Regions from separate parts of the Homo sapiens genome. Here regions 1, 2, 3, 4, 6 and 7 are each linked to region 5. Evidence: promoter capture Hi-C in 16 types of primary human blood cells and fetal thymus (Javierre and others, 2016). All regions are on one chromosome and are shown on one strand. Each heading gives the region's core, a stretch centred on a gene start or on the middle of the fragment in contact. The rest is flanking DNA. Distances are from core to core; before and after follow the strand shown. Region 1 has its middle 6.1 kb from the start of RAB9A. Region 2 holds the start of LOC107985656 (a long non-coding RNA gene). Region 3 overlaps OFD1 (OFD1 centriole and centriolar satellite protein). Region 4 overlaps RAB9A (RAB9A, member RAS oncogene family). Region 5 holds the start of TLR8 (toll like receptor 8). Region 6 has its middle 13 kb from the start of EGFL6. Region 7 has its middle 30 kb from the start of EGFL6.

Region 1 (3,332 bases), core at 373-2,872, 780 kb after region 5:
GGAGTTCAAGACCAGCCTGGCCAACATGGTGAAACTCTGTCTCTACTAAAAATACAAAAATTAACCAGACGTGGTGGTGCACGCCTGTAATCCCAGCTACTCGGGAGGCTGAAGCGGGAGAATCGCTTGAACCCTGGAGGCGGACGTTGCAGTGAGCCGAGATCGTGCCACAGCACTCTGGCCTGGGCAACAGAGTCAGACTCCATCTAAAAAAAAAAAAAAAAGAAAGAAGAAAGAAAAAAGAAAAGAAAAAGAAGATAAGCAAACTTTACAGCTCTCTTCTGCATTTCCATTATGGGTGTTGATATGGTTTGGCTGTGTCCCCACGTAAATCTCATCTTGAATTGTAGCTCCCATAATCCCCACATGTCGTGGGGGGTAATTGAATCGTGGGGGTGGGTTTTTCCCATGACAGTGAGTAAGTCGTAGGAGGTCTGATGGTTGTATAAAGGGCAGTTCCCCCGCACACTCTCTCTTGCCTGCCCCCACATAAGACATGCCTTCGCTCCTCCTTTGCTTTCTGCGATGATTGTGAGGCCTCCCCAGCCAAGTGGAACTGTGAGTTCATTAAATCTCTTTTTCTTTATAAATTACCAAGTCTCAGGTATGTCTTTATTAGCAGCGTAAGAACAGACTAATACAGAGGTATGACATAAGCAGTGTAGTATAAATGATTGCATTCTAATTGAAAGTATATGTGATGGATGGACATATTCTAGTCCAGTGCTGTCTGATTTTCTGTGCTGATGCACATGCTCTATATCTACTCCATCAGTTGGGTAGCCACTAGCCACATGTGCCTAAATAGAGCAGTGCAAATGAGGCTAATATGACTTAGGAATTGAATTCCGAATGCTATCTCATTTTAATTGGTTTACATTGAAATTTAGATAGCCACACGTGCGTCTTGGCTACCATATTGAACAGCACAATTCTAGTCCATTCAGGTACCACACCTAATTTTCTCCATGAAGGTCTTCTCTCTTTTTGTGTTAGATTTATTCCTAAGTATTTTATAATTTTGTTATTGAAGTTAATATAGTTTTAAATCGATGTTTTGGCCGGGTACGGTGGCTCACGCCTGTAATCCCAGCACTTTGGGAGGCCAAGGCGGGTGGATCACGAGGTCAGGAGATCATGACCATCCTGGCTAACACGGTGAAACCCCGTCTCTACTAAAAATACAAAACATTAGCAGGGCGTGGTAGTGGGCGCCTGTAGTCCCAGCTACTTGGGAGGCTGAGGCAGGAGAATAGCATGAACCTGGGAGGTGGAGCTTGCAGTGAGCCGAGACTGCACCGCTGCACTCCAGCCTGGACGACAGAGTGAGACTCTGTCTATAAAAAAAAAAAATGTGTTTGAGTTCATTGTAGATTCTGGATATTAGCCCTTTGTCAGATGAGTAGGTTAGAATAGCGATCATTAAAAAGTCAGGAAACAACAAGTGCTGGAGAGGATGTGGAGAAATAGGAACACTTTTACACTGTTGGTGGGACTGTAAACTAGTTCAACCATTGTGGAAGTCAGTGTGGCGATTCCTCAGGGATCTAGAACTAGAAATACCATTTGACCCAGCCATCCCATTACTGGGTATATACCCAAAGGACTATAGATCATGCTGCTTTAAAGACACATGCACACGTATGTTTATTGCGGCACTACTCACAATAGCAAAGACTTGGAACCAACCCAAATGTCCAACAATGATAGACTGGATTAAGAAAATGTGGCACATATACACCATGGAATACTATGCAGCCATAAAAAATGATGAGTTCATGTCCTTTGTAGGGACATGGATGAAATTGGAAATCATCATTCTCAGTAAACTATCGCAAGAACAAAAAACCAAACACTGCATATTCTCACTCATAGGTGGGAATTGAACAATGAGATCACATGGCCACAGGAAGGGGAACATCACACTCTGGGGACTGTTGTAGGGTGGGGGAAGGGGGGAGGGATAGCATTGGGAGATATACCTAATGCTAGATGACGAGTTAGTGGGTGCAGCACACCAGCATGGCACATGTATACATATGTAACTAACCAGCACATTGTGCACATGTACCCTAAAACTTAAAGTATAATAATAATTTTAAAAAAAAAGTGGGCAAAAGTTAACAAAAACAAAAAAAACAAAAAAAAACAAAAAAACAATCGATGTTTCCTGTGTTTTGTTGGTTATATAAAGGGAACTTATTTTTGTTAACCACTTTTTATCTAGCCACCTTGTTAAACCCTTTCAATGATAGATTTTCTATAGTGTGATTTAGATTTTCTAATCATATTGTCTGTGTTTAATAAGTTTTGTTTCTCCCTTTGCAGTCCTCACACGTTTTTGCTTTTATTGCTGTGTGCTAGGACCTCCCATGCAATGTTGAAGAGAGTGGTTGGAGCAGACATTCTTATCTTTTTTTTTTTTTCTATTTTGAAGGGCATACGTAATGGATTTTAACCATTAAGAATGATGTTTGGTATAGGTTTTTAGTAGATATTCCTTATGAGGTTAGGGAAGTCCCTTCTATTCCTGGTTTGCTAAGAGATTACTTATCACAAATGGGTGTTGAATTTAATTGAATGAATTTTTTCTTCACCTATTGAGTTGACTGCATGTTGTTTTCCCTTTGAACTGTTCATGTTAAACTACCCTTGCATTCCTGAGGTACATCCAAATTAGTCATTACAAATGAAATTCTATTATTTTCTCTTATTAGTCACTTTTTCCTCCCTCTTTGCATATCTAACACTTTATTGCATGCGGGACATAGTATATAAATGAAACAGAAATGGTCCACATAATGTCTTCCACCAGTGAGGGTTCACCCTTTCCACTTTTAGGTAGATAGAGTGAGGGATTTATCAAATTTAATCAGGGATTTCGTTTAGCCAGAGCCTAGATGTAGCTGTGACTAGGATCCAGCACCAGCTTGGATTATTTATACTCCTGTGGATGGAGTGAGGGTAGGGGAGGTGAGAGGATAAGAAGCTGGTTATGTGAGAGTGATGGCGGTCTCAGCTCTTAAACCAAAAAGTAAAGAAAGCTGCAAATGAGCACTGGGTATTTAGATAGAAGATCACAGCGCGGCTGGAAGAGGAACACTTCAGCATCACTATCCTGAGTCTTAGGAGCAGCACATATGGTTTTGGACATGTCTGTGTGGGCTTATGTCTGAAGGAAATAGTTGGCAAGATAACTGGACTTTTGCCTTGCACTAACCATTATAGCCTAAGGCAAAGATTAAATTGCAAGGCCTTATGAAGTACTTTTAAAGTTTTTTTAAAATTGCTTCGTTGAAAAACTTCCACTTACTTCCCAAAATAATAATATA
Region 2 (3,142 bases), core at 624-3,123, 760 kb after region 5:
ACCCAGGCATCAACATTTCTTTTTTCATTCCTCAAGTTATTTTAAGATGCAGTCAGAGTTGAGAACTACTCAGAAATAGGCTCTCATTTGATCCTTTTTACAGCTCTAAGACAAGAATGTTATTCCAGGCACTTCACGAATGAGGAAACAGGTCCACAGAGGTGTGGTGACATGTCCAAGTGACACAACCATAAATAGTACCAATTCTGACAGATCCCAGATTTTCTCCCTCCTGACTCACTGAGACTGGCTCAATATCGACTTCTGAGAAATGTATTCCTGGAGGTCGGGGACAAAATGAAGAATGTGTTTAAACTCCAACATTGGGTGACTAGATCTTCATTCTTTTCCCCTCTCTTTTCTCATTTATAGGTCTCCCTTCAACCACAAAAGTCACCCTGGAACTCATCCCGCAGTTAGAATTTTGTTTGGAGCCCTCTTGCTTAGTTGAAGGAGTTTCGTAGTTGTTTTTTGTTTTTGTTTTTGTTTTTGTTTTTTCCCCCTGTGAACAGGTTTTTCGGGGGTATGTAAACTCTAGGATGTTTAGTTTCTGATGTCAGGAGTCTTCATGTTCTCAAGGACAAGTGTCCTTGAGATGGACATTAATGGTCATTAGTCTGTCAGAGGAAGCCCATCACTTTAGCCTTTGAATGTAGTAACAGACGTTTATCTAATAAATGAATTGAAGATAAAATTACCTCTTTGAGGCCTTTGCAAACAGTGTTTAACCAGTTTATATAATTGTTTGACTACAACACGCCTTCTATGTGATTATGGCTGATTTTTTTTCCTTAAAAAACTCATGGAATGTTCACCGTTTTATAGTTTTAAAAAGTTTACTTTGGCGGTCTCTACAAACCTACCATTTCACTTTCTCACCAGTTCTTTTCTCCTAACTCTCTTCCTTTGTTGGAGCTCTGAAGGCCTAACTGTGTGTACACTTTACCTGCCTGACAGAATTCTCCAAAACATGCATAAAAGTAAAATATGTTCGTATTTTCAAATAATTTGGAAGAGTCGGCTCAATGCCATCAAGTGTAAAATCTATTTTGATATACTTGCTCTCCGTGTCTTCCCAGGGCTGCTTTTTGTGATGCAACATGTTTAGTCCTTAACTTGCAAGGTCATCTAAAACTTGAAGTTTCACAAAGTGTGGTTTCATATGACTTGGAATAATCTGAAAAACTATTCAGTGGTTACGAAAGAGCACAGCACATAAAAACCAAATTTGATTAGTTCAAGTCGGTGTTTATGTTTTGCTTTGGGGGTTTGTGTGTATGTGTGTAGTTTTTATTTATATTGGAATTTGGCAAACTAAATGTTCAGACAAATAAAAGTAATTAAAATGGAAATTTCCTTACTCTCCAAAATATAAAAACCTTCATGGTCTGGCCGGGTGCGGTGGCTCATGCTTGTAATCCCAGCATTTTGGGAGGCCGAGGCGGGCGGATTGCCTGAGGTCAGGAGTTCAAGACCAGCCTGGCCAATATGGTGAAACCCCGTCTCTACTAAAAATACAAAAATTAGCTGTGCATGATGGCGGGTGCCTGTAATCCCAGCTACTCGGGAGGCTGAGGCCGGAGAATCACTTGAACCCAGAAGGCAGAGGTTGCGGTGAGCCAAGATCACGCCATTGCATTCCAGCCTGGGCAACGAGAGAAACTCCACCTCAAGCAAACAAACAAAAAAACCAATCTGCGTGGTCTTCCTCATTTCATTTCATCTTTATTCGTGAGTTTTGCAACTTGAGATAGGAAAATAGTAATCTGTGTGTTTTTCTTTTGGTTAATGAGACAGCATTACATTTTCTGCCTATAGGTAATTCTTTCAGATCCTATGTCCTTTCCCCTAAAAGGAAAGGACTTTCTTTAAAATTGACTGCAGGGTAAAGATTTTTTTTTTTTTTTTTTTTTTTTTTTTTTTTTTTTTTTTTTTAGACAGGTTCTCACTCTGTCATCAAGGCTGGAGTGCAGTGGCGCCATCTCAGCTCACTGCAGCCTCAACCTCCCGGGCTCAAGCAATCCTCCAACCTCAGCATCCCCACTCCCTTGAGTAGCTGGGACTGCAGGCACGTGCCACCATGCCCAGCTAATTTTTGTATTTTTTGTAGAGACAGGGTTTCTTCATGTTGCCAGGCTGGTTTCAAACTCCTGGGCTCAAGCGATCCTCCCAAAGTGTTCGGCCTCCCAAAGTGCTGGTATTATAGGCATGAGTTACCGTGCCTGGCCAAGACTCTTTAATTTAAAATCGCTTTTTCAGAAACAGCAAATGGAAGACCCTGAGACAGGAGACTGCCTGATACACGCAAGTTCCAGCAAGAGTCCACGGCAGCTAAGTCACAGTGAGCAAGGGGAACAAGGATGAGAGATGCAGTCAAAGAGGCCATCGTGAGGGCTCTTGTCGGTCGGCCATGGTAAGGATTTGGGGGCGTTTCTTAAAACATGATGGGAAGCCACTGAAGCTGGGGAGTTTGTGGTGATGAGATTTAACACCCTTTAGGAAGGATCACTCTGGCTGTTATATTGAATTAGAAGGGAAGGAAGCAAGGATGCATGCAGGGACAACAGGTGACCCTTGGCAGTGATCCAAATGTCAAATAACTGGCTTCAAGCAAGAGTACACAGAGTCTGGGCTCCCCGAATCCTTATAGTCAGCAAAGTCCTTGACAACTTTGCAAATGGATATTTCATAAAATACACTAAATCCCAAGTTCCCTACCCATGGCCCATAATAAACAATAATAGACAATGCAGAAATTCAGCATTGGACAAGTATATCCTATACTCGGGTTGCCATGATTACTGGGAGTCCCTGCATAGGGCATAAACACCAGTTGTTATACCTGAATGTAGGAGCGCTCTCTTGACTCTTGATGGATTTTCCCACATCACTCTCCTTTTGTCTGTGTTACTTTTCTGAGATAAAAAGTTGGATACAATTGGAGCTCTGTCTCTTCCCTGAGCACTTCCTGTGATGAGAGGCTCCTTTCATTCGCCACTACCATTCTAAATACCAGTCAGGAAGCCTGCAGCTGGCAGTGCTCCACTGCTTTGGCAAGGGCTGGGCCTTCATCTTCTGGGTCAGATTGCTTTGTTATTTATAACTTCCCAGTAAATGCAAAATATTTTACTAAAGTAGTTAT
Region 3 (3,290 bases), core at 720-3,219, 850 kb after region 5:
CCATTACTATTAGTTTCTACATCAGCCTGTTATCTCCTTCCATCAGCAGCAGGTAAACAAAATTCCTGTCATTACATTGTTATCTTACAGATTAAAACAAAATGAGGTACATTTTTCACATATCATTGCTTCTTTACTTTTCTGTTCATTCGTGTGCTTGCTGTCTGAAGGATGAAGCTGGAACTTTAGGTACTTACAACATATTTTGTATATGAAATTTATTTTAGCAACTGTGACTTATGTGAGAACTTTGTAGGCTTTTTACTCAAATATGAGATATACTAAGAAAAGGGAAGCACTTCACAACATTTTACAGAATCTTTTTTCCTTTCTTTCCCTTTTTTTTTTTTTTTTTTTTTTGAGACAGAGTCTTGTTCTTTCGCCCAGGCTGGAGTGCAGTGGTGTGATCTTGGCTCACTGCAACCAACCTCCACCTCCCGGGTTCAAGTGATTCTCATGTCTCAGCTCCCAAGTAGCTGGGATTTCAGCCATGTGCCACCACACCCAGCTAATTGTTGTATTTTTAGTAGAGATGGGGTTTCACCATGTTGCCCAGGGTGGTCTCGAACTCCTGAGCTCAAGCAATCCTCTTGCCTCAGCCTCCCAAAGTGCTGCGATTACGGGCGTGAGCCACCATGCTCAGCCATTTTTATCTTACCTTTCATATTTAAAAAATATATATTGCTATGATGTGTGATTATTGTTGGGTTCTTGGTTGCCTCTGGAAAATGGGATGATAATCTTAGAAGGACTTGCTTCATGGGATGCGGCCTATAAAAGTTCTGCCCCAACTGTAGGGCGGAAGATAATTTTCGTTATTGTAGTTAGAGTCTTATTGTAGAGAATCAGACTTCTGTCTAGTGACCTTAATTAAATTGTGACACCATGCTTAAAGGAGCCTGCCAGCTTTTACTTTTGCAGTACTGTAAAGTCATTATTCAAATGTAAATTTTCCTTTTTGAATTTTAGCTTGAATTAGAGTCTGTCAAAGCCCAGTCTTTGGCAATAACAAAACAAAACCATATGCTGAATGAAAAGGTTAAAGAGATGAGTGATTATTCACTACTAAAAGAAGAGAAACTGGAGCTTCTGGCACAAAATAAATTACTTAAACAACAACTGGAAGAGAGTAGAAATGAAAACCTGCGTCTCCTAAACCGTATGTATTTTTCTTTTCTTCTGACTTGCGTGTTTTAGTAATTCGCATTAGGTCAGTATTATAAAACTATGCTTTGTACTTGTATAAGGTAGGGGGCTTACATTGGGAAGATTTATAAAATTAAGATTCTTGGATTAAACTCTGCAAACCTGCCTATAGGTGGTATCAAAGCTTCCCTTGCCCTCTGACTGCTGATTGGGTTTGGCCAGTGGGGACACCAGCCTCTACATACAGTGGCCCTAGGCTGGCCACTGTGCCTCATGGCCAAGTGAGGCCATAGTGCCTGCGATTACCTCTTCCAAGTGCTCTGCACCACCACCCTGTCTCTAGTGCTGAGAATTTCTCCCTCCTCTGATTCCCCAGGCCCAAGGAGCGCTAACAGTATGGCCCTGTTACTAGCCCACCCAGGGAACTCCACCATCCTTTGTGCATACCCTGAATAAGTCAACCTTTATTAAAGGGTTCTTAGATGACCTTGACCGTGAGAGCCATCTGCCTTCTGCCTGGATCCCAACTGCTGCTGTCAGATGCCCAGATCATATTGGATCCCAGGGCTGTCATCAACAGGTAGACCAGATAGAGAGCTCCTTCTGTGCACAGTAGAGGAGAGAAACAGGCTTTCAGGTTAATTTGAGAATTTGAAAGAGTTCTTTTACTTGGAGTAGGACTCCAAGGGTAATAAAGTTTGCATTAACATGCACTAAATTCTTTTGTTGTGAAATTTGAGAGTCAGGATTGCTCTGAGCTCATTTAATAGAATTATTATCATATTTATTGAGTCAGTACAAAGCAAAGAACACTTTAAAACCCCTTTAACTGTTTTTGTTAAGTTAAATAAGAAAACTTAAGGTTGGTAATGACTAGGATTTTTTTTTTTTTTTTACCTTCTTAGGCCTAGCTCAGCCGGCTCCTGAACTTGCAGTCTTTCAGAAAGAACTACGGAAAGCCGAAAAGGCTATAGTGGTTGAGCATGAGGAGTTCGAAAGCTGCAGGCAAGCTCTGCACAAACAACTGCAAGACGAAGTGAGTATTGCTCTTCTTCAGTTCTAGTGTGATACCAGTACACTTCATAGTTACGTAAACTTGGCACAAGTCACACTAGTGTAAATCAGATTTATTTTAACATCAAACATTACTCCCCCAAATATGCTAAAGGTATCCTTTCTCATCTGAGAAAATTCTGCAGTGATAACGTGACTTTATATTCGTAATAGTAATAAAATGGAGAAGAAAGCAAACTCACCTAAACATAAAATTTTCTGAGTGCCTGATGGTGCCCACTGTTATCTCTCGATTCTCACCCTGATAAGTATTACAAACATTCACTGTCTTCTGATTTCTGCCTGCATGCCCTAGAGTTCTTTGATATGACTGAAAAAGATGGTGAAGAACTTGTTTGTGTGTTCTGCTTGTGTTTTTTTTTAATAGGGACCCTGTTGTTTACTGTCATAAAGCTTCTTGGAATTGGCAGAACAAAAAGAGTACAAACATGATAAGAGAACTTTTCCTTTTGAAGCAAGCTGTGATTTGTTTTACATTGATTTCTTTTCCTATTCTGAATCTTTTCAGATTGAGCATTCTGCACAGCTGAAGGCCCAGATTCTAGGTTACAAAGCTTCTGTAAAGAGTTTAACTACTCAGGTTGCCGATTTAAAATTGCAACTGAAGCAAACTCAGACAGGTTAGAGACGTTTTAACCCATAAATATTTTTGTATGTATAAAGCTTCTGGTGTCTGTGAAAATGTAATGATCATAATTTATTGAATATTAATTATTGTTTTAGGGGAAAAGCCATAGAAATATGTGTCATCTTAGAAGTAAAACTCCCTATCCATTTTGGTAATACCATCTGGATCATCAGCAAAAGTATTTTGCTTCATAGGTGCCTCATGGCTTGGGAGAGTCTCATGCCCCAATAGGAAAGGCGTGGTGGTAACATAGAAGTCCCCATATTCATTATAGGATTTCCTTTTTTATTTGTTACCCCAATGTTAACACCAATTCAGTAGTTTTACGGATTCCTTGATAGATATATAAATATACAGGACAAGCAGGGTGGTTTAGCAAAAAGAATATTGCCTTCAGAATCAGAACTGTTCTTCTTTTGGACCCGTTTTGAAGTTGTTTGAC
Region 4 (3,331 bases), core at 635-3,134, 790 kb after region 5:
TTCACCTTGGCAGGTCTTGCCTCCAAGTTGGCCTATTCCTATGGTATTTCCTTTTCTTTCTTTTGCTTCTTCCTGCACACTAAGTATGGTATTTTCTGACAGTATTTTTCTTAATTCTTTATTTATTTTTCTTGGTAATTTCTTGCTGTAGAGCTGGTACCCATTAGACATAATGACTTTCCTTGACTTGCTTCTTGCTCATAAATTTCTGTAAGACAATCAGGAAGTTTTTAGAAACAAACAGTGGAACCAATTAGGCTGTTAAGTGAGACACGCCTAAATTAAGCTATGAGGAAATAAATACAGCTCCAGCAAAAATAGAAATAATTTTCAGATTATCCATGCTTTTGTTTCCCTGGTTTTCTTTGAACCTCATTTCCTCAAGCTATGAAGTGAAATGAAGTGGTAAGTACACCTCTAAGTAGGACATTCAGGGTGAATCCAAAGGAACTTGTGAATTTGACCAAAAAAAAAAAAAAAATCTGTTCCTAAATTTAAACCAGGAGTGATAAATTCATTTTAAGTTTTTGGAGGGGTTACAGAGTATGTGTTTTAAAATCTCAAGTTTTGAGAAGGCAGTTTACAAATGATGCCTGCTCTCCCTTTGGCAGCTTATTAAGGAATGTAGTCGTTTTTCAGCATTTGCCAGCTCCCTGTCGCAGTCAGTCAATAGTACTTATTTTAAAGTGGGATTCTCATTGGGATTGCAAGTAAGAATCAATGTTTTTGTTCCTACCCACACATTTTAATAGACCTCAAAAATAGAATGCGGGGAGAACTGATAGAGAAACAAAGAATTTTAGGTACAGAAAGCACAAATAGAATAATAATAGAATAACAAGAATAAAAGAGGAAGTAATATACTCTTCGTTCTCAATGTAGCATTTATTTGCACCTCACCAAATGTAGAGCATTGTACGAGAAGTGGCAGAACAAAAAAGGGACAAGTGAATGGATGCAATTAGGTGTTGTGTGTCCCTCCCAGGGAGTTGACATTGTAATTAGGAAACAGACACATACACAACTGAAGGTGATTAGAGCATAAGTAAATGAGAGCTGTAAAGAGGTGGAAATGATGAGAGCAAAGAAAAGAGAAAGATTAGGTTGCTGGGGCGGTCCTGGCTTCCTACATGAGGTAATCTGGACTAGGCTTCTGATGACTAAGATTGTCATAGCTGTCGAAGTAGGGAGGGGCCTCCCAGGCCAAAGTAACAGCCCGAGCAAAGATATGGACAGAAAATGCCAGTGATAGGTGCGGGGATGGTGAGTAGTAGGGATATAATTGGGACAGGCTTGTAACTGACATTGAATAGCTCTTTGAATGCCATGCTCAAAATCCTGTATAATAAAAATAATAAATAAATGAATTTAGTTATCTGTCAGAATGGAGACAATTAGATCCAGGACCAATAAAAAAAGTCTAACTTCAGTCACATACACAGTCATATTAGAGATTTATATTCTTTTTTTTTGGAGACAGAGTCTCACTCTGTCACCCAGGCTGGAGTGCAATGGCACAATCTCGGCTCACTGCAACCTCTGCCTCTCCAACAATCCTCCTGCCTCAGCCTCCCAAGTAGCTGGAACTACAAGCAGGCACCACCACACCTGGCTAATTTGTGTATTTTTTGTAGAGATGGGGTTTCACCATGTTGCCCAGGCTGGTTCCTGAACTCTTGGGCTCAAGTGATCTGCCCATCTCGGCTTCCCAAAGTGCTGGGATTACAGGCATGAGCCACCGTGCGTGGCCAGCAGATTTAAATTCTTGATGCTTGGACCTTGAGGCTTTCTATTCTTCCCCTTGGTTTATTGTAGGATGTGGCTTTGGAAGCCAGCAAGGGGTTGGAGAAGGCCAGAGAAAAGGGTACTACTGATAAACTATTCATGAACAATTGATAGTATAAGATAAAAGTACATAATGGAAAAGTTGGGAAAATAGTGTTATAAGAAGGAAAGGGTTAACATAAAATGTTCTTTTGTCTTTTGAATTTTGCCGTATCTGCTGGCAATGTGGTTCATTTGTTTTCCTGCCAGTGACCTGCTTATCCAACTTTACATTCGGATTAGTGTATGACACATACAGCATATGTTGGTACCGGCACGTGGTGTGGGAATCCTAAAGTAGTGTCTGTTGTACATGTAAATGATTTATTTAAAGGGATGCTGCTGAAGGGACAAGGAGAACATTTGTAGCTCTAGTAGTGTAAATCTAATTCTAGGGTCATATTTTTAATTCTCAGGAGATTTGCACATATATTTTCACATACAGTAAAAATTTTTTTTTTTTTCAAGGTAGGGTCTCACTCTGTCACCCAGGCTGGAGTGCAGTGATGTGATCACAGCTCACTGCAGCCTTGACCTCCCCAGGCTCAGGTGATCTTTCTACCTCAGCCTTCTGAGTAGCTGGGACTACAGGCATGCGCCACCATGTCCAGCTAATTTTTGTATTTTTTGTAGAGATGAAGTTTTACCATGTAGCCCAGGCTGGTCTCAAACTCCTGAGCTCAAGTGATCTGCCTGCCTCTGCCTCCCGTAGTGTTGGGTTTACAGGCGTGAGCCATGGCGCCTGGCCGAATTCACCCTTTTAAAGTATACAGTTGATTGGTGTTTATAGTATATTCACAGAGTTGTACAACCATCACTACTATCTAATTCCAGAATATTTTTATTACCCCCCCAAAAAAACCCCATACCCATTAGCAGTCCCTCCTCCTTTACCTGCCACTGCCCCCCGCCCCATCCGTTGACAACCATGAATCTACCATCTCCATATTTGCCTATTCTGAACATTTTATATAAATGGAATCATACAATAGGTAGCCTTTTGTTCTGACTTCCTTCACTTAGCATAATGTTTTTGAGGTTTATCTACGTTACAACATTGCATGGATGTATGATGCATTTTATTTATCCATTCATTAATTGATGGACATTGTCTTTCTTTTTAGGGGAAGGTGGTTTGATAATAGTATGGGTATGCATTTTTTTGGTGCAATCTAAAACATTGACAACTCAGAAATGTATGGACATTTCTGTAATTGGATAGTACACATCCATGTAATGTGGGTTAAGAGAGCATGTTTCACTTTTATTAGACATAGTAGGCATGTCAATTACAGAATTCCTTATGGTAAATGGTAGAGGCACGCACAGGATGGTTAAGAGTGTCGAGGAAGGGGGTTCAGTTGGAGATGTCCAGTAGGTGTTCGGGAGGAGGTGAGGTCTAGCTGCATCCACACGGCTGACTAGGAGTTAGACAGGTAAAGGGCCAGGGATTTGAATGTGAACAAGGTAAAACACGAAGTCATATAGTAAATATCTTACTGGAGGA
Region 5 (3,095 bases), core at 230-2,729:
CCTCTACAAAGTGCTGGAATTACAGGTGTGAGCCACTGCACTCGATCCATTCTTACTTACTTTCTTTACTTTATTTCCAAGCAAATGTTTGGAGGGAAACCAAGAGACTTGGATGCGGCCAGCCGAGGCCTTTGGGTTTACAATCACAAATGTTTTTGGTTTGCCCATGAAGGCCCAGGCTGCACTCTCTGATGTCACAGGAATCACCTCTCAAACCATGCACCAGGTCTTGAATTCCCTTAGGGTGTGATCTTTAGAGGTCCATCTAGGTATACCCACCCAAGCCATTCTTTGACTGCTGACAGGCCTTCCTTCATAACAAGGTGTTCCACAGTCCATTTATATATGGATGTCATCTCTGCCCACCCTGCTGCCAATTTGGTTTTCTCCCACTCCTGGGGTGTAAGGCAAGATGAAACATATCACATCCCGTTCTAAACTTTATTCTTGTGGCCAGGGGTCAGCAAACTTTTTCTGTAAAGGGCCAGATGGCAAATATCTTAGGTTTTACAGGCCAAGAAGCAAATTTGGCATATTATGTAGCTACTTATATAGTAAAATAAAAATTTCCACAATTATGTAATTGATGAAACTCAAAATGTAATAATAATAATCGAAGGCAGTTTTTTTGTAGTATAGGTTTAATAATGAGAAGAATGGAATCATTTTTGGAGGTGCTAACATTCTGCTTGGTTGGAATTTAAAGTTAGTGTTCTGTATCAGCAAATCCATTGCCAATGTTCATCTAAAAATGTTTTCACTTCTGGGCCGGATTTCGTTCAAAGGCTGCAGTTTGCTGACCTCTGCTCTTGGTTACACCTTTTGAGGCCCTTGCTCTCCGAGCATAAAATGGAATCCATTTATCAGACTAAATCGGGAAGATTAAATTTTCCAGCCTCACGAATGCTCAGCCATTGACTCACTCGTTCATACAATGAACACTCATTGAGCTTATACTACATGCCAGGTGCTGGAGGAGGCATGGGGCGCCCAGGAGAAAGATGCTCGCTTTGCGGCCACAGCCCAGTGGGAGGGAGACCCATACCTACCGGTGCTGTCTCAGAAACTTGTGGAACAAAGATGAAGCAATGTTCATGTTATTCGCCTACATCTGTGAATTACACAAGGAAGACGAGTTTGAGAAATCCGAAGTTCAGTACAAATTTATGGTAACTTTTTTAAAAAAGAATACACTGAAGTTTTCTTAGTGAATGGAATAATGTTCCCTTTTTCTCCCCTGTACACACAAATACACAAAAACTAACAAAAATACGTCGTGTGTGTCTGATTTGGGTTGTATTTAAATCATTTCATAAATGACTTTTTCCCATAACTTCAGTTTCAAAGTTTTAAAGCACAGTCAATTAATGATTTGGCAACAGCTAAGAAATCACAAGTTCCCTTCTTTTCATGTAAACTTCTGTAAAACACACGCTACGTTCTGCTGATGGTAAATAGAGCCATTTCAGGAAGTTAGCCAGTTTCTCTTCTCGGCCACCTCCTGCATAGAGGGTACCATTCTGCGCTGCTGCAAGTTACGGAATGAAAAATTAGAACAACAGAAACATGGTAAGCCACTTCTATTTCTTTAGCAAAGCTTTCCAACAGAATATGGGGTTTCTGACCCAGAAATCTGGGTTGGTGGCAAATGGTGTGAGCCTAGAAAGTAATAAATGGGCAAATAAGGATAAAAATTAAAGATCGAAACAACTGTAAATGCAGGTAAAGCGGCTTGCTATGATCTTTAATTTGTGCACACGTTAGTATAAAGGAATTAGAGAGTAAATTTTGAAAATCAAATGCAGTGATGATCTTACTAATTTGGACAGGAAAATAAGAAAATTTCAAGTTAGAAATTGAACTGGAAATATTACTTACTGGCCCTACCAGAGACAATATCCTCTTCCAGAACAACAGGGTTGGAAGAGAAGGTGAGGGAAATATTCTTCCTTTGCTATTTCTGTAGAAAAGGACAAACTCTCTTCCTTCACATACATAGGTCAATTGCTAGATCCTAGTGAAGCCTGAGCTTAACCTACTGTTGGAGGCTTAAAGTTCGACATTAATTGCTACTTTTCTTGGTCAGAGTTTTAAATAATTAGGTTGGTACAAAAAACTGTGATTACTTTTCCACCAACCTAATAACATGCTACAATTTCTGTAATTATTATTTTACACTGTCAAGACATAGCAGGTGGTCCGTTTTTGTTATTGTCAAGAACTGTCAGACTAAAAATGAACTTTACACTTCTTTTTAAATGATACATTTTCTAGAAAATTCAATGAGGTTTAAGAGCAATTGAAAAGTCTGATTTCAAGAGAGTCTCATCCAAAATGTACTATATATTTTTCCCCAAAGTCCTTGGAGTTAATTTTGACAACAATTTAAAGTACACTTAAGTCTTTTGAAGTTAATGGGTCTGCCACCCAGGTTGGAGTGCAGTGGCGTGATCTCAGCTCACTGCAACCTCCGCCTCCCGGGTTCAAGCGATTCTCCTGCCTCAACCTCCCAAGTAGCTGGGACTACAGGTGTGTGCCACCACGCCTGGCTAATTTTTGTATTTTTAGTAGAGACGGGGTTTCTCCATGTTGGCCAGGCTGGTCTCGAACTCCTGACCTCAGGTGATCCGCCTGTCTCAGCCTCCCAAAGTGCTGGGATTACAGGCATGAGCCACCGCGCCCGGCCTGAAGTTAATTTTTATACCCACCTAATGTTCATTATGGATCTTGAAGGTAAATTAATTCTGCACTAAAATTTTACAATGCTTTACAAAATGACTGTAGGTGGCCCATATGGAATTCGGTCAACTGGGCCAATGACACATATGGGATTGCAGTTGAAATTATCCAATTCCTACTTGATATTTGTAAGCTGCTGTGATAGCCAGTATAATTGTACTGTAAGAATGTGGTAAATAGCCGGGGCCCGGTGGCTCACGCCTATAATCCCAGCACTTTGGGAAGCCGACGTGGGCGGATCACTTGAGGTCAGTAGGTAGAGACCAGCCCGGTCAACACGGCAAAACCTCGTCTCTACTAAAAATACAAAAATTAGCCAGGTGTGGTGGTACGCACCTGTAGTCCCAGCTACTCAG
Region 6 (3,399 bases), core at 425-2,924, 650 kb after region 5:
GGCTGCATGCTTTGAATTATACCATCCAGATCAGTCCAAGGAGATCTTTTTACAAAAGGTTTATATCTCCAAGAGACCTCAAGACACTCGCTGGGAATCCTGGAAATTCCTTGGCACTGCAGCAGGGTTTCCAGCTCTGCCTGCCATATTTAGAGCACTAGCATTGAGATCCCTAGAGGAGGGGTTGTCCTCTTTAAATACCATTGCACCTGTTCACAGATGGTGTCTGTCCTTTGGAGATGAGAGGAAGAAGGTACAGAGAGAAATGCAGAGGTAAGCCATGGAACTGTAATCTATTTAGATTAAAAAAAATAACTCTATAAGGAGGAAATTAACAACACAAGTTACACTCGATGACAAATTGGTAGTAGGAATGTCTTCCCTCCTGACCATAAACATACTTTTCTCTATGATAACCTGAAAACTAACATAATTTGTATTCATCGGGCTGACAGGGTTTGATCCTGATTTCCTTGCTTACCAGCAAAGTGACTTGGGCAAGTTTCTGGATCTCTCTAGACTTCCGTTTCCTGATGGGGGAATGGGGATGATAATAGTTCCTATGTCATAGGCTGATATGATGACTAAATGCAAAAGTGTGTGCCAAGGGCTTGGGTGAGGAAAGTCACTTGAACTTCCAGCGGACAGGATGTACACATCTATAGATAAAAGTGATTTTGCATTGCTATAGTCACCTATAACTTGAAGAGTTGTAAAATAGTTCAAAGGCAATGAGAGGCTAGAGTCAGAAAACCAAGAAGAGTGTGATCTAAACAATGCATTGCTTTTCATTGAAACACAAATGTTTCCCTACATCACCATATGATAAACATTTTTTGACTGAATTTTCTCATTGGCATGTTTGTGAGTGTTGCAGATCTTACGTAGCTTCAGAATAAAGCCTTATTATAGAACACAAGAGGCAAAACAGGACATGTCTTTTTAATAAGCTTTTTTAATGTTAGAAAGTGTTAGCAAAATTCTTGCAATAAACACTGACTTTAGCTGGGTGTGGTGGCTCATGCCTGTAATCCCAACACTTTGGAAGGCCGAGGCAGGAGGATTGTTTGAGTCCAGGAGCTTGAGACCAGCCTGGGCAACATAGCGAAACCTCATCTCTACAAAAAAATACAAAAATTAGCCAGGTGTGGTAGTGTGTACCTGTAGTTCCAGCTACTTGAGAAGCTGAGGTGAGAGGATCGCTTGAGCTCAGGAGTTCAAGGTTGCAGTGAATCATGATTGCACCACTGCACTCTAGTGTGGGTGACAGAGTGAGACCTTGTCTTATAATTCATCATTTCTCATGCCCATAACCTTACTAATAAGAATGGAAACCAGAGTTCTCAGTTTTAGAAGAAATTTGAGTTGGACAGAAAGGGAAAGGCACCAGAAGGGAATCATGGCATAATACCATGGATGGCAGGCTTTGACCCACCTCTTTTAAAAGTGGTGCCTGTGATCTATTTTTACCTACACTCAAATGAGAATACAAACTTTCTAAATGTCTTATATCCTAAAATTATTCTCATTAACCCTCTGAGATGAGTGAAGAAATACAACATCAAATGATTCACCTTTACCAAGAATTAGTAGCAGTTTTAGATAAATCACTTGGTTTGTGAGTCCTAGAAGTCCAGCTATATTTGATCTCATAAATCTATGCCTGGGACTCTCATTACAGGAAAATGGATCATGCAAAATTCAGGGTGATGAGATCAGACCTGGGCTACACTTCAATAGTATTGTTGACATCTAGGTGACACCCATGGCAGGTTTAGGTGAGGTCTTTAGTTCAATTCATTAAGAATGATAGGGAACAGGAGATTCTTAACTTAGCTCTTTCAAACTGGAAGTAAAATTAAACAATACAGAGCAACTACTGTAAAGACATCATTTTTTTTCCCTCTTTTAAGGAGTAGGATATCCTATGCTGCTTTATCACCAAAGTTCACACTTGTATTATTTTTTCACATTTCCTGATGTTGAATGATCCCTTGAGCATTTGGGACTTAGTAACATGAGGGGACCTCAAAAAGTTCCTGGAAATACTGAATTAAAAGATAAAAATAAAAATAGAAACTTCATTTCTCAACGTAAACTCCATCAAGTTCAAGACACTTTTGTAATTGATGATACCAGCAGTTTAGTTCATCCCTAAAGAATTGAGGGTCTTGGGAATTTAAGCATATCAATGCAGTCTTTTTACATGATTAACTGAGGAAAAATGGGCACCCTTTAAAGATTGTTTAAAATTGGGAAACAAAAAGAAGTCAGAAGGAGAGAGTCAGGACTATAAGGTGGACAGCTAATGATTTCCCATCAAAACTCTTACAAAATTGCCCTTGTTTGATGAAAAGAATGAGAAGGAGCATTGTTGTGGTGGAGAAGGACTCTCTGGTAAAGCTTCCCCAGGAATTTTTCTGCTAAAGCTTTGCCTAAGTTCCTCAAAACACTCCCATAATAAGCAGATGCTATCGTTTCTTGGCCCTCCAAAAAGTCAAGTAAAATGCCTTGAGCATTCCCAAAAACTGTTGCTATAATCTTTGTTCTTGACCCATCCACTTTTGCTTTAACTGGACCACTTCCACCTCTTGGTAGCCATTGCTTTGATTGTGCTTTGTCTTTGGCATGGCAGTGGGAAAGTCATGTTTCATTTTCCATTACAATTCTTTGAAGAAAATTTCAGGATCTTGATCCCATTTGTTTAAAATTTCCTTTGAAAGCTCTGCTCTTGTCTGCAGTTGATGTGGGTGCAATGATTTTGGCACCCACTGAGTGTAAAGTTTACTCAACTTTAATTTTTTAGTCAAAATTGTGTCAGCTGAACCAATTGAGATGTCTATGTTGTTAGCTATTGCTTCTGCTGTTAATCGTCGGTCCTCTTCAATTAGGGCATGAACAAGGTGAATTTTTTCCTCACAAATTGATGTGGATGATCTTCAGCTGCAGGCTTCATCTTCAACGTCACCTCGTTCCTTCTTAAAACAAATTGTTCACTTGTAAACTGCTGATTTCTTTGGGGCATTGTCCCCATAAACTTTTCATTAAACATCAATGATTTCACCATTCTTCCACCCAAGCTTAACCTTTTTTTTTTTTTTTTTTTTTTTGGAGACAGGGTTTCACTCTGTCACCCAGGCTGGAGTGCAGTGGAGCAATCAGAGCAATCTCAGCTCACTGCAGCCTCGATCATACAGGCTCAGGTGATCCTCCCACCTTAGCCTCCCTGGGACCACAAGTGCCTGCCACCACACCCAGCTAATTTTTTGTATTTTTTATAAAGACAGGATTTTGCCACATTGCCCAGGCTGAGCACCATAAATTTGATGTTTTTTCTTGCTTTAATTTTAGACTCTTTTCAAACTGATGTCTTATCCTTCTTAGTGCCTCAAACGCGAT
Region 7 (3,204 bases), core at 549-3,048, 630 kb after region 5:
TACCAGGCTATCCTCCAATAATGGATTTAAATATAAATCATTGCAAATATAAAACATTGCAAATTTTTTAAACTCATTGATTGCTATACATGTATCAATCATTACAAATATATCAATTGCTACATGTGTGTTTTTTATACATTGTATCAAATGTATTGATTATTACAAATGTACTTTTAAATGTATTGATTGGAACAACGTTTAAACACAAGAGATAAGGTTACATTAAAAAAGTAAGTTAGTCTGGGTAGGGCCTTTGGCACATATAGCTACAGTTAACATTAAACATAGCCCACCTCCTAGCCAAATTAACATAAAGCCTTACACTGAAAGCCTAATTAACTCAGTTTTTATTACCAGATATATCATGATCACTTCCAACAAAAAAAATTATGAGATAAGCTAAAGGCAAGGAAAAAATACAGTCTAAAGAGACAAAACAAGCATCAGTATCAGACTTAGATGTGATTCAGATTTTGAAATTATCAGATAAGAAACTTAAAACAAATATTATTGATATATTAAGGGCTCTGAACTTGGCCAGGCCCAGTGGCTCATGCCTGTAATCCCAGCACTTTGGGAGGCTGAGGCGGGAGGATTGCTAGAGCCTAGGAGTTCCAGACCAGCTTGGACAACACAGTGAACCCTTGTCTCTACAAAAAAAAATCAAAAAATTAAAAATAGCCACATGTGGCGGCACACACCTGTGGTCCCAGCTACACAGGAGGCTGAGGTGGGAGACCACTTAAGCCCAGGAGATCAAGGCTGCAGTGAGCCGTGTTCATGCCACTGCACTCCAGCCTACCTGACAGAGAGAGACTCTATCTCAAACAAACAAAAAGTAAGTGAAGAAATTAGGTAAAGAAAAATAAGAAGCAGCCAAGAGTGAACTACTCAACATGCATACTGTGGCCAAAATTTAGGCTCTAAGCCTTCAAGCAGCCAACTCAAAGAGAGAGACATAGGCAGTTACTTGATTCAGCATCCAGAAAGCATAAACTAATTCTTAGTTCTTTTCTCCCCTAGTCCTAGCAAAGAGGATGGGGCAAAAGTGCCTAACAAGGACCTCATCAACACCCCTGTGAAAAATAAACAAGTTTGATCCGTTTGTTCTTCTAGTAAGGCCAATGCAAATATGCAACTCCGAAAGTTTCGAAAGACAATTCTTAGGCAAAGAGCTTGGAAATCAATATATCTTTGTCCAGTTAAACAGCTTCCTTTTTATTTTTTTTCTATACAGGGTCTCACTGTGTTGCCCAGGCTGAAGTGCAATGGCATGATCACAGCTCACTGCAGCCTCTACCTCCTAGGCTCAAGTGACCCTCCCATCTCAGCCTCCTGAGTAGCTGGGACCACAGGTGCCTGCCACCAAGCCTGGCTAATTTATTATTATTTTTTATTTTTGTAGATACACAGTCTCCCTATGTTGCCCAGGCTGATCTGGAACTCCTGGGCTTAAGTGATCCTCCCACCTGCACCTCCCAAAGTGGTGAGATTACAGGCATGAGCCATTGTGCCTGGCCTAAACAGCTTTCTGATAGATTGTTTAGTACAAGGATCAATTGTAAAGCTGTGATTCTTGGTCTAGACAGGGAAATGAGGGGGCCTATTTGAATCAACTGGAAAGCTTCTTCAAACTATGTAAGTACCACTCCCTTCCTTTTGACAGGTTTCCATGAAGCGTGTCCCCAAATGTATTACCATGACTGTGTAGTGAATCCCTTACGTGTGCTAGGGTGAGGACCTCATGGAAAATGGAGGTGTTCATGAAAGGGTAACCATGTGCAGACATAAGAGCCACCTAATTCCAAATTCATCTGTCTAGACTCCTTCCTAAACCTCAGAATTAATGACCCTTGGATGAAGCCATAACATACGTACTCTTAACTGCCTTATCAGTTGATTCTGATGCAAAACACCTTTGAGCAGTGCTAACCTAGAGCAATGGATGGACCATATACTATTTGGCCAAGCTTCTCTAAATATTTTTCTCAAGAAAATGTTTCAAATAGAAGAAATTCCAAATTATACTCCCTAGTGAGCATACCTGGAGTGCCACTCCGTCCTTCCAGTTAATCAGTCCTGTGATACATTTAACAGCTAGATTGCCCCAACATGGCAGATGTGGCTGCTGATTCAACTAGGGGAAACCAACAAAAAGGCGTTCCTAGCAGACAGCAGCCTGTCTCTTCTGCCTACCCATGTGTCTCTGGACACAGCTAAAATATTCTGTTGGTCAGAATCCAGATTCCATCTGTGTTTTTTAGGTCCTTGACCTTTTGAGGCACCCTGTGTTTTGAGAAGCTGCTTTTATACATCTAAGCCCTGCTCAAAATGCCTTTGAGATAATATGAAATTGTATATCTGGTGCCCAAAACAAATTGGACACATAAAAGTCTCAGTGCTTACTGAAGTGATTTAAATTAAACTCATATATAATAACAATATATAAATAATAATGATAGAATGATACTCACTCTTATTAGATAATATATATGGGAGACTACCCACCTGGCCCAGGTAATTTGGCATGCCTTAAGATTCCTGAACTTACCCAAAATAATACAATTTCATTTCTTAAATATAAAAGCAGGACAAGAAGAAAAAGAAAAAGAAAGGTAGAACAACGCACAACCCTTAGGTAGCTGTGGAGGCGACAAAACAACATTGGCTTGGGTTGCTCCTGACAGATGCGTGGAAAAGGTTCAAAAATTTTTCTACTTTACAGCCTGGCCCAGCCTCTGAGTGTCCCAGAGATATTTTCATTAGAGCTCTTCTTCCCTTGTTGCTACCTAGTTATTAAAACATTATTCCCGAGCCAGGCAGTGGCATGTGTCTATAGTCCCAGCTACTAAGGAGGCTGAGGATCCCTTGAGGCTAGGAGTTCAAGGCCAGCCTGGGGAACATGTGGGACCTTGTCTCTAAAAAAGGGGGGAAAAAAAGGAATAAAAAAGAAAACATTGTTCCTGGAAATGGTAGTGGGACGTAACAGGGAGATAAGGACTTAAGGGGAACCAGCTGATGGCGGGTCTGGCTGAGGGGAATATGATCAGGAACTGGTTTCTCTCCACCAAAGATGAGCAGCACCCAACTTGTAATGGCTTGTGGGAAATGCAAAGATGCCTCTGAGGGCAACACTCAGTCACAGCCAGTATAAATAACCCTGACTTTCATTGCAAAACAGTTTTCACTTAAGAAAGATAT

What was found. The method cuts DNA at HindIII sites, captures the fragments that hold promoters and counts their contacts. A CHiCAGO score of 5 or more calls a contact.
Region 1: a fragment that was not itself captured here is called in contact with the fragment with the promoter of TLR8 in region 5 in 1 of 17 cell types (M0 macrophages); the score reaches 6.1 in M0 macrophages.
Region 2: a fragment that was not itself captured here is called in contact with the fragment with the promoter of TLR8 in region 5 in 3 of 17 cell types (M1 macrophages, monocytes and M0 macrophages); the score reaches 6.7 in M1 macrophages.
Region 3: a contact is called between a fragment that was not itself captured here and the fragment with the promoter of TLR8 in region 5, in 2 of 17 cell types (M0 macrophages and monocytes). The highest score is 6.8, in M0 macrophages.
Region 4: a fragment that was not itself captured here is called in contact with the fragment with the promoter of TLR8 in region 5 in 1 of 17 cell types (M0 macrophages); the score reaches 5.5 in M0 macrophages.
Region 6: a contact is called between a fragment that was not itself captured here and the fragment with the promoter of TLR8 in region 5, in 1 of 17 cell types (total CD8 T cells). The highest score is 5.0, in total CD8 T cells.
Region 7: a contact is called between a fragment that was not itself captured here and the fragment with the promoter of TLR8 in region 5, in 1 of 17 cell types (non-activated CD4 T cells). The highest score is 5.2, in non-activated CD4 T cells.

The regions. Positions count from the first base shown.
Region 1 is chrX:13,681,373-13,684,704 of GRCh38, forward strand. No RefSeq gene overlaps it. Among named protein-coding and RNA genes, the nearest start is that of RAB9A, 6.1 kb to the right of the region's middle. The HindIII fragment of the contact is 4,496 bases long and covers 1-3,332 here.
Region 2 is chrX:13,664,058-13,667,199 of GRCh38, forward strand. TCEANC (transcription elongation factor A N-terminal and central domain containing) reads left to right here. Exons shown (of 5, transcript NM_001297563.2): 5 at 1-1,352. It overlaps LOC107985656 (a long non-coding RNA gene), which reads left to right and starts at 2,018. Exons shown (of 3, transcript XR_002958816.2): 1 at 2,018-2,413. The HindIII fragment of the contact is 3,880 bases long and covers 1-3,142 here.
Region 3 is chrX:13,755,609-13,758,898 of GRCh38, forward strand. It overlaps OFD1 (OFD1 centriole and centriolar satellite protein), which reads left to right. Exons shown (of 23, transcript NM_003611.3): 13 at 970-1,159; 14 at 2,052-2,182; 15 at 2,729-2,840. Among named protein-coding and RNA genes, the nearest start is that of OFD1, 23 kb to the left of the region's middle. The HindIII fragment of the contact is 1,283 bases long and covers 1,329-2,611 here.
Region 4 is chrX:13,698,500-13,701,830 of GRCh38, forward strand. All of the region lies in intron 1 of RAB9A (RAB9A, member RAS oncogene family), which reads left to right. Among named protein-coding and RNA genes, the nearest start is that of RAB9A, 11 kb to the left of the region's middle. The HindIII fragment of the contact is 5,121 bases long and covers 1-3,331 here.
Region 5 is chrX:12,905,141-12,908,235 of GRCh38, forward strand. TLR8 (toll like receptor 8) reads left to right here and starts at 1,480. Exons shown (of 2, transcript NM_138636.5): 1 at 1,480-1,569. The coding sequence starts at 1,567. TLR8-AS1 (TLR8 antisense RNA 1) reads right to left here. Exons shown (of 5, transcript NR_030727.1): 3 at 3,076-3,095; 4 at 1,050-1,111. The HindIII fragment of the contact is 3,594 bases long and covers 1-1,595 here.
Region 6 is chrX:13,555,142-13,558,540 of GRCh38, forward strand. No RefSeq gene overlaps it. Among named protein-coding and RNA genes, the nearest start is that of EGFL6, 13 kb to the right of the region's middle. The HindIII fragment of the contact is 1,453 bases long and covers 949-2,401 here.
Region 7 is chrX:13,537,506-13,540,709 of GRCh38, forward strand. No RefSeq gene overlaps it. Among named protein-coding and RNA genes, the nearest start is that of EGFL6, 30 kb to the right of the region's middle. The HindIII fragment of the contact is 346 bases long and covers 1,626-1,971 here.